3 separate regions of the Homo sapiens genome follow, and regions 2 and 3 are each linked to region 1. The links are contacts of gene promoters, found by promoter capture Hi-C in blood cells and fetal thymus (Javierre and others, 2016). All regions are on one chromosome and are shown on one strand. Each heading gives the region's core, a stretch centred on a gene start or on the middle of the fragment in contact. The rest is flanking DNA. Distances are from core to core; before and after follow the strand shown. Region 1 holds the start of ERICH6-AS1 (ERICH6 antisense RNA 1). Region 2 overlaps TSC22D2 (TSC22 domain family member 2). Region 3 overlaps MED12L (mediator complex subunit 12L).

Region 1 (2,700 bases), core at 85-2,584:
AATTCTACCCCCCCCAGGAACACATGGCAATGTCTGGAGACTTTTTTTTTTTTTTTTTTTTTTTTGAGACGGAGTCTCGCTCTGTCGCCTAGGCTGGAGTGCAATGGCGCGATCTTGGCTCACTGCAAGCTCCACCTCCCGGGTTCACGCTATTCTCCTGCCTCAGCCTCCCAAGTAGCTGGGACTACAGGCGCACGCCGCCACGCCCGGCTAATTTTTTGTATTTTTAGTAGAGACGGGGTTTCACCATGTTAGCCAGAATGGTCTCGATCTCCCGACCTCGTGATCTGCCCGCCTAGGCCTCCCAAAGTGCTGGGATCACAGGCGTGAGCCACCGCGCCCGGCCTGGAGACATTTTTGATCATCGCAAGGATGTGTGCTTCTAGCACAGCCACGGGTAGAGGACAGGGATGCTGCCAAATATCCTGTAATTCACAGGACAGTCCCCAATCCTCCCCAACAAAGAATTATCCAGACCAAAATGTCAACACTAGAGCTTGAGAAGCCTACTCTAGAAGACTTCTCTGCTTCTTTTTTCAAGGAAGTGACTGGAGTGGCTTCAGCACAGGATGTTAAACACAAAAGAGAGTTGTTTTTTTTTTTTGCAGGACTGTTTCAGTAGTACAGCACCCTTAAGGCACTTCTCTGGAAATAATATGAGTGTGTGTGTGTGTGTGTGTGTGTGTCTGTGAGAGAGAGAGAGAGGGAGAGAGAAAGAGAGGGGGAGGGGAGAGGGAGGGGAGGAAGAGGGAGGGGAGGGGGAACAGAGAGAGAGAGAGAGAGAGATGTCACGGTGTGAATGCACGCAAAAATGTTATAAAAATGAGCACTCCCAGCAGCCTGGGCAACATAGTGAGACGCCAGATTAGCTGGGTGTGGTGGCGTGTGCCTGTAGTTCCAGTTACTCGAGAGGCTGCGGTGGGAGGCTTGAGCCCAGGAGGTCGAGGCTGCAGCCACTGCACTCCAGCCTGGGCGACAGAGCGAGACTCTTGTCTAAAAAAAAAAAAGCACTTCATACAGCCATGCCCAAGTTCAACTTTTATGGTGTTTCGCCTATATCCTAAATCGTGCCTCATCACAACAGCTCAGCCAAGGGTTCAGTGTCTCTGACAAGGGCGTGAGAGAGATTAGGTGTGTGGAATGGTGCATGCATTTAGAAATCAGGCACGACGCGCAGGTCGACGAAGGCACCACCCAGGAGTGGGTGGACCAGGTGCCCCCTGGAGACGAGAAACCCTCGAGGAAGGGGTGGGTCGGGGGCGGTACTTTTATGCGAGGAGGTGCTGGAGGGTGGGCTTGCGCTCGGCGTTTCAGTGCTGGTCGCGCTCTGGCTGGGCACGAACGTAGAGGTCAGGCTAGGGCTGACGATGCTGGCTAAGCGGGGGCGCACGTCTGGGAAGTCGTCGTCGTAGTCACCGATGTCCGTGACCTTCCAGAGGTACTCTTCGCTGAACGTCTCAGGGGCCTCCAACTCCTGCTCTTCCCCCACCAACTCCTCCTCCACCACCTCCTCCTCCTCCTCCTCCACCTCTTCCTCCTCCTCCTCCACCTCTTCCTCCTCCTCCTCCACCTCTTCCTCCTCCTCCTCCTCCTCTAACTCCTCCTCTGACTCCTTCTGGTCCTTCTTCCCCGGGTCTCCGAAGCCGCTAGGCGAGCGCAAGTGGGCCATGGCTGGCGGGAGGCGGGATTACAGCCAGCTCTTTGGCCGCGGCCCCGGTCGGCTCTCGCGAGCGCGAGCCTCTGTTGTGCGTTGGTCTCCCCGGGCAACTGCTTGCCCTGCGCCACCGAGCCTCCCGGATTTAAAGCGGCAGGAGCTGGTTAGCCGGATAGAATGTGGGTGCCGAGGGCCGGTGGGGGCCACCGCAGACTTCTTTCTGTCCCTGCTCTTCAGCGTCTCTGAAACCCCTGGCAGCCTGCGGAGAAACGATCTTTTCTTCGTCTCTCAGCTTATTTGGGGCCTTTTTTTTTTTTTTTAACTTGGGTGGAGGAAGTGGCTTCTAGCGACGGACACACACGGTGCCATTTGGTATTGCGGATGCTGGAGTCTGGTTATTGAGTAGACAGATGCTTGCTGGAACGTCCAGTGAAACTTTATTTACAAAATCAGGCGCCAGCCCTTGGGCCCTCGTTTGCGGATATTTTTAAAATAGCTTTAAATATTAATAAGCGTATTAAAATTGCCTTAAATGTTAGTTATCTTAAATATTGTTAGATTAATATTAATTAATCTTGATTGGCGACATTTTTAGCGTCCCATAAATTTTGCTCCTTGCTGTGATCTGGGTCCTGCTTCTTACTTGGCCCATCTATCCATCCTGGAGTAGAAAAGTCCTGAAGCATCTGGCCACCTAGGTACCACCTGCGTCCTTCTGGGACTTTGTATTTACTTACATTTTTGTAAAATATATACATTTTTTATTTTTGAGAGACAGGATGTCACTCTGTCACCCAGGCTGGAGTGCAGTGGCGGCATCATGGTTCACTTCAGCCCTGAACTCTTGGGCTCCAGTGATCCTCCCACCTCGGTCTCCCAAGTGGCAAGGACAACAAATGTGTGTCACCACGCCTGGCCAATTTTATATATTATATTATATTATATTATATTATATTATATTATATTATATTATATTATATTTATTTTGAGACGGAGTCTCGCTCTGTCACCCAGGCTGGAGTGCAGTGGCACCATATCGGCTCCCT
Region 2 (2,700 bases), core at 143-2,642, 290 kb before region 1:
ATTGTCCTTTTCTTACATATCAATCACACTTGAACACGTAAGGCAGAGAGATTTGTCAGTGTGAGTTTTGAGGCTGAGACATAATAATACTACAAGTTTTCCTTTCTGGAAAACCAGAAGGTCCTCTAGTGAAAAAAAAAATCTATGTAAGGAATCTTCTCCAGTGTATCTGGAAAGGCTGGAGACATAATGGTGAAATGTCAAATCCGGCTTTGAAGATCATACTTAGTTCAGCCTTTTGATTAAAGGAGGTACAAGGTCACGAGTCTTCCCAGGGACTTCTCTAAGATACTATTTTTTTGTTGTTAAGCAAAAAATGTACTGGAAAGATATTCTTACTTTCCATCAGTCTATTTATTATAGGAAAGGGAGGTTGAGATCGATCCTTTAACTGTAGTGAAAGCTATAGTTCTTGAAATTAAGAGTAATTTTATAATAAAAGTGTAAATGTTAATAATTGGCTCCCTGTATTTAGGGATGCTTTTTTTAATGGCCTAAATAAGAATTAGTGTATTGCTACACCAGTGCCACAACAGCTGATGTTTGGTTATGGTTTAGTGAGGATTTTTGTGGTTTTGAGGAGATGTCACATGTAAATTTGACATACATATTGCAAAATTTTAAAAGCTGACTTGTTGCAATGTTTTAAAATTATATTTAAAAATTATAGAAAAAGTTTCAGGAATTTCACAGTTAGACATTTCTTTGCTGGGGTTTTTGTTTAGCGAGAGGCTAATTTTAGGTGTTTTTAAAAGATACAAACTAATATTATGGATTTCCAGAATAATTAGTATGTGGAAGAATACAATGACATGTATGTTAAAGCTTTCTCTTCCTATGGTTTCTTCTGAGTTCCTTCACATTTCTTAACCTCCCATTTCTAATTAGCCTTGTATTTTTGTTATATACTTCTGTTGGTTTGAAAAATACTCACTGACTGAAATTCATTCATCTTCTCTGCTTTTTGTAATTTAAAGTTCATCTTTTTTTGTAGGTGACTTGCTTATGGGGAGTCTTTCTTCACTTGAGAACGCTTAGAGAATACCACGTGTCCATAAGTGAGCTCAGCTAGCTAGTCATTGAGAAATTTTGTGTGTGTGGGACTACTAAGTAAACTGACTCCACAAGCCACTCAGAAAAATCCCTCTACTTTTATAGTTGCTCCCATTGTCACACACAGGGACACACCTGTAACACAGATTGAGTTTATTTTTTCACCTTTGGTAATAATCAACAGGCATCTTCACTTTTCTAGCTGCCACAAGCCAATTTTTTCCTGATAAGTTGGCAAATAACCTTTTGCTTTCCTCTGTTCCTGTATACTGCCCATATCTCTTCAAGAAATGATGACTGGTTTCCTGAGCTACCCCGCTTTCTATACACACACACACCCCTCCACCCGAGAATGCAGATTACATTTTCCCTTCTGTGCACACCTCTCTCAGTTTACAGCATCCATACTTAGATTCCTCAGAACTTTAGTACGATGATAAGGCATGAAGCAGAGACTTCTGTTGATAGATGGAAACTGAAATGTATTCTTTAGGGTATGACATCAAAAATGCATTTATTTTTTCCTCTTACTGTATTAAGAGTTGGTAATCTGAAAACTCTGATTTCCAAATTTGTGAATGGTTGAACTACAGATACTACTGTATCAGTGTTCTTACCAATTGCAACAGTTAATTCAGTGCAGGGGTTTTGATGTATGTACAGTCCTATTTTAAACATGACACTTCCCTCCCTTGCCCCAATCATTTAAAATCTACATTGCTTACCAATGTTCATTTCTGATTTTTGTTACAGTCTTTCATTGGTTTTTAACTTGACATGCTAGTTTCCAAGATGTAATCTTACACATTTGACTGTTTTGTCACTGGTCCAACATACCTGGTGAAGGAATAAATCCATTAGGTAGAAATAGTTGGGTTTTTTGTTTTGTGTTTTTTTTTTTTAATAGAAAGCTTTGGTTAAAAAAAAAAAAAAGAACAGGGTATTTTAAAATTTTGTGTTTGAAATTAAATAACAGTTTTCCAGGCATATGTTTAAATTACTGAGATGAGTACTTTTGAGGAGACTACTATCTTAACTGAAAATTTTAATTTTAATGTGATTTTGGGTTGCCGCCTTAAAATCTGCATGTTTTCAAATTTGAAATAAAACCAACTGGAGTGAGAGGTCTTGACTAATTGTGATTTAAACTTTGCAAGTAGTTTGACAAATTTCAGATCCTAAGGAAATATTTGTAAATAAGATATATGCTTTTTTTAAAAAAAAATTAGGACTTTAGTAAACAGTCTATTTCTTTGAGAAAAGAAAGGAAAATGGGAAATTAACAAAAAGATTGAGGTGGTTTAGGTTGATACATTGAAAACTCTTATCTTGAGATTTTGGTTCCATTACCTAATGCAAAGTTCTATATTGGCTTAATTTTGAGATCATTTATAATTAAAGAACCGGGCCTTATAGTAATACATCTTAATATTATCACACCTTTAAAAGGCTGATGGTTGTATATGCAAAAAGTTCTCAATTAGCATTGCCTATTGACTCTACATTATTAATTACCATAAAGTTTATCTTTCTGGCCATTTTCATTAGAAAGGTTTATGGTCAGTTGTTGAGACTCTTCAGATTGATTTTGTGTAAACTCGTGGATGTGATGGTTGAAAATACAGTCCTTAAATATGTAGCTACTTT
Region 3 (2,700 bases), core at 68-2,567, 440 kb after region 1:
AGGAGTACTAGTCAGGTATATTGTAGGGTTATCTTCTGTTGGAATTTGTCTGATATTTTTCTTATGGTTAGACCAGGGTTACAGAAGTCAAATGTCATTCTCATCATGTTACATCAAGGGTACATGCTATCACCATGACTTATGACTATTGATGTTAACCTTGATCACCTGGCTGAGGTAGCACTTACCAGGTTTTACAGTGTAAAGTTATTTCCCTCCCATCCCTTTCCACACTTTACTCTTTGGAAGGAAGTAATATGGACAGTCCACACTTAAGAAGTGGGGAGTTAACCATCCCCCTCCTTGAGGGCAGAGTATCTACTTATTTAAAATTCTTCTGCATGGGTGATTTGTCTCTTATCTACCTACCTACCTACCTACCTGCCTACCTACCTACTATTCTTTCATTCATTAATGTATGTATGTATTCAAGCATTTCTATCAGTATTGATTCATAGATGTTTACTTCATCTTTTGGTTTATAATACTCTATTTTGTTCCACCTTTGTCCATTGAGAGCTCTTTCAGCTGTGTCCTGTGTCCATTTGACATACCCATCTTAGTTTGCTTTTGTTTTTGTCTTTCTAAGTACTTTCTTCTTTTCTGGCACTAGAAGGTGCATTCCATGTTCATTGTGTATATTTTCTGTTCCAATCCTATAATGAGCCATTTCTCCAAGGAGCCCTGGTTGTCTTTAAAGGAGAGTGGTATTAGAAACCAAGAGTTGAGCACAAAGAGTGCTTATTGCTACTTGGGGTGTCACTGCTTCTAGGCCCTCTCAGTTGACAGATTAAGGAGATGCATGTGTGTGGACTAACTCATGTATGTACATATATTTATAAATATTTTTATATGTGATTGTGTTATCTCTTGAGCTAAACATGAATTCTTATTGATGCCTGGTAAGTGCATTTTTCCATTTTGTTAGATTCTGCCAAGTTTTCCTTCATAGTATTAACATGGACTAGACCTACTCAAGTTGTGAGAGGAGAATATTGGCGGGACAGGCATAGGAGAAATATGTAAGCAAGGTCTTGATGGGAGGTGAAAGAGAGCTGAATGTTCATCATCTTCCATGTAGGAAGCCAGTGGGTAATGCTTACAATCAGGAAGTAGGACTGTAAGCATGTTATTTAGAGGTAGAGGTAAATACAACAGATGAAAGAGTTGAAAATAATTTGCTTTTGGAGAATAATTGAGGAGTTTATGGACAATAGGCTGTTGTGTTCACAATAAATCATATAGAACTATTGGACTCTTTAAGACATGCACAAGAGGAGCTTTCATATAAACAAAAGTTAGCTAAGCCTAATCGCAGTCCCAAATTATTACTGCCTATTTTTTGTTGTCATTGGTACTTTTCCTGGAAGATATCTTGCTGTAAGAATGTTTTATGAAAAAGATTTGGAGGAAGTTTAAGGAATGCCATCTTACCCAGTAGCATTACAATTTAGTTATTCTTAGATAAATTGCAAGAGCTTACTTTTCTCTAAGCTAACTACTTGCTTTTTGGGACCTTAACTTAAATGAAGTAGATGTTCTTTGTAAAAATTGGAAGACCTCTAATATTTTTCCAGGTATGTAGCTTTTTAGTTAATTGAATATGCAAATTTTCCCTATTTACAGACCCTTTATTAACGTAAAATAACATAAAATTTACCATTGTAACCAACAATAAGTGTATGGTACAGCAGTATTAACTCAATGCACATTGTTGTACAACTGATTTGTAGAACTTTTTTCTCTTGCAAAACTGAAACTGCCCATTGAACAACTCCCCTTTCTCCCCCTCCACCAGCCTCTGGCTACTGCCATCATACTTTGCTGATTTACAGAAACTTTAAAAAGTTCTAATCAAGTTTAATATGCTGCACTGTAACTCTATGTGCCCGATTGTTGCCCTGTGGAAACATATTTCAGCTTTTCCAAAGTAAAAATATTATACCCTCTTCCAAGTTAGAATGCTGGTGTGTGGTTGTGGTGGTTGTATATTTATGTTTAATTAATTTTTTGGTGAAATCAAAGAAAATGTATGCCCATGATAGTTTTTGAATTTATTTATTTATTATTTATTTTTTGAGACAGAGTCTTGTTCTGTCGCCCAGGCTGGAGTGCAATGGCCTGGTCTTGGCTCATTGCAACCTCTGCCTCCCGGGTTCAAGTCATTCTCCTGCCTCAGCCTCCCGAGTAGCTGCGATTACAGGCACGTGCCTCCACACGCAGATAATTTTGTTTGTTTGTTTGTTTGTTTGTTTGTTTGTTTTTTGAGAGGGAGTCTCGCTCTGTTGCCCAGGCTGGAGTGCAGTGGCACGATCTCGGCTCACTGCAAACTCCGCATCCCAGGTTCACGCCATTCTCCTGCCTCAGCCTCCCGAGTAGCTGGGACTACAGGCACCCGCCACGACGCCCAGCTAAGTTTTTGTATTTTTAGTAGAGATGGGGTTTCACCATGTTAGCCATGATGGTCTCGATCTCCTGACCTTGTGATCCACCTGCCTTGGCCTCCCACAGTGCTGGGATTACAGGCGTGAGCCACCGTGCCTGGCGTTTTTTTTTTTGTTTTTTTTGTTTTTTTTTTTTTGTTAGTAGAGACGGGGTTTCACTGTGTTGGCCAGGCTGGTCTCGAAATCCTGACCTCGTGATCCACCTGCTTTGACCTCCAAAAGTGCTGGGATTACAGGCATGAGCCACTGGGCCTGG

The links. Contacts are between HindIII fragments. The CHiCAGO score rates a contact against its expected background, and 5 or more counts as called.
Region 2: a fragment that was not itself captured here is called in contact with the fragment with the promoter of ERICH6-AS1 in region 1 in 1 of 17 cell types (fetal thymus); the score reaches 5.2 in fetal thymus.
Region 3: a fragment that was not itself captured here is called in contact with the fragment with the promoter of ERICH6-AS1 in region 1 in 5 of 17 cell types (erythroblasts, M0 macrophages, total CD8 T cells and 2 more); the score reaches 7.0 in erythroblasts.

The regions. Positions count from the first base shown.
Region 1 is chr3:150,702,230-150,704,929 of GRCh38, forward strand. It overlaps ERICH6-AS1 (ERICH6 antisense RNA 1), which reads left to right and starts at 1,335. Exons shown (of 3, transcript NR_121675.1): 1 at 1,335-1,438. It overlaps ERICH6 (glutamate rich 6), which reads right to left and starts at 1,691. Exons shown (of 14, transcript NM_152394.5): 1 at 1,267-1,691. The coding sequence starts at 1,669. RefSeq lists enhancers at 1,567-1,646, 1,797-1,886. The HindIII fragment of the contact is 4,487 bases long and covers 1-2,700 here.
Region 2 is chr3:150,411,619-150,414,318 of GRCh38, forward strand. All of the region lies in intron 1 of TSC22D2 (TSC22 domain family member 2), which reads left to right. Among named protein-coding and RNA genes, the nearest start is that of TSC22D2, 4.7 kb to the left of the region's middle. The HindIII fragment of the contact is 1,139 bases long and covers 824-1,962 here.
Region 3 is chr3:151,138,620-151,141,319 of GRCh38, forward strand. The region is part of intron 5 of MED12L (mediator complex subunit 12L); the gene reads left to right. Among named protein-coding and RNA genes, the nearest start is that of MED12L, 54 kb to the left of the region's middle. The HindIII fragment of the contact is 4,237 bases long and covers 1-2,700 here.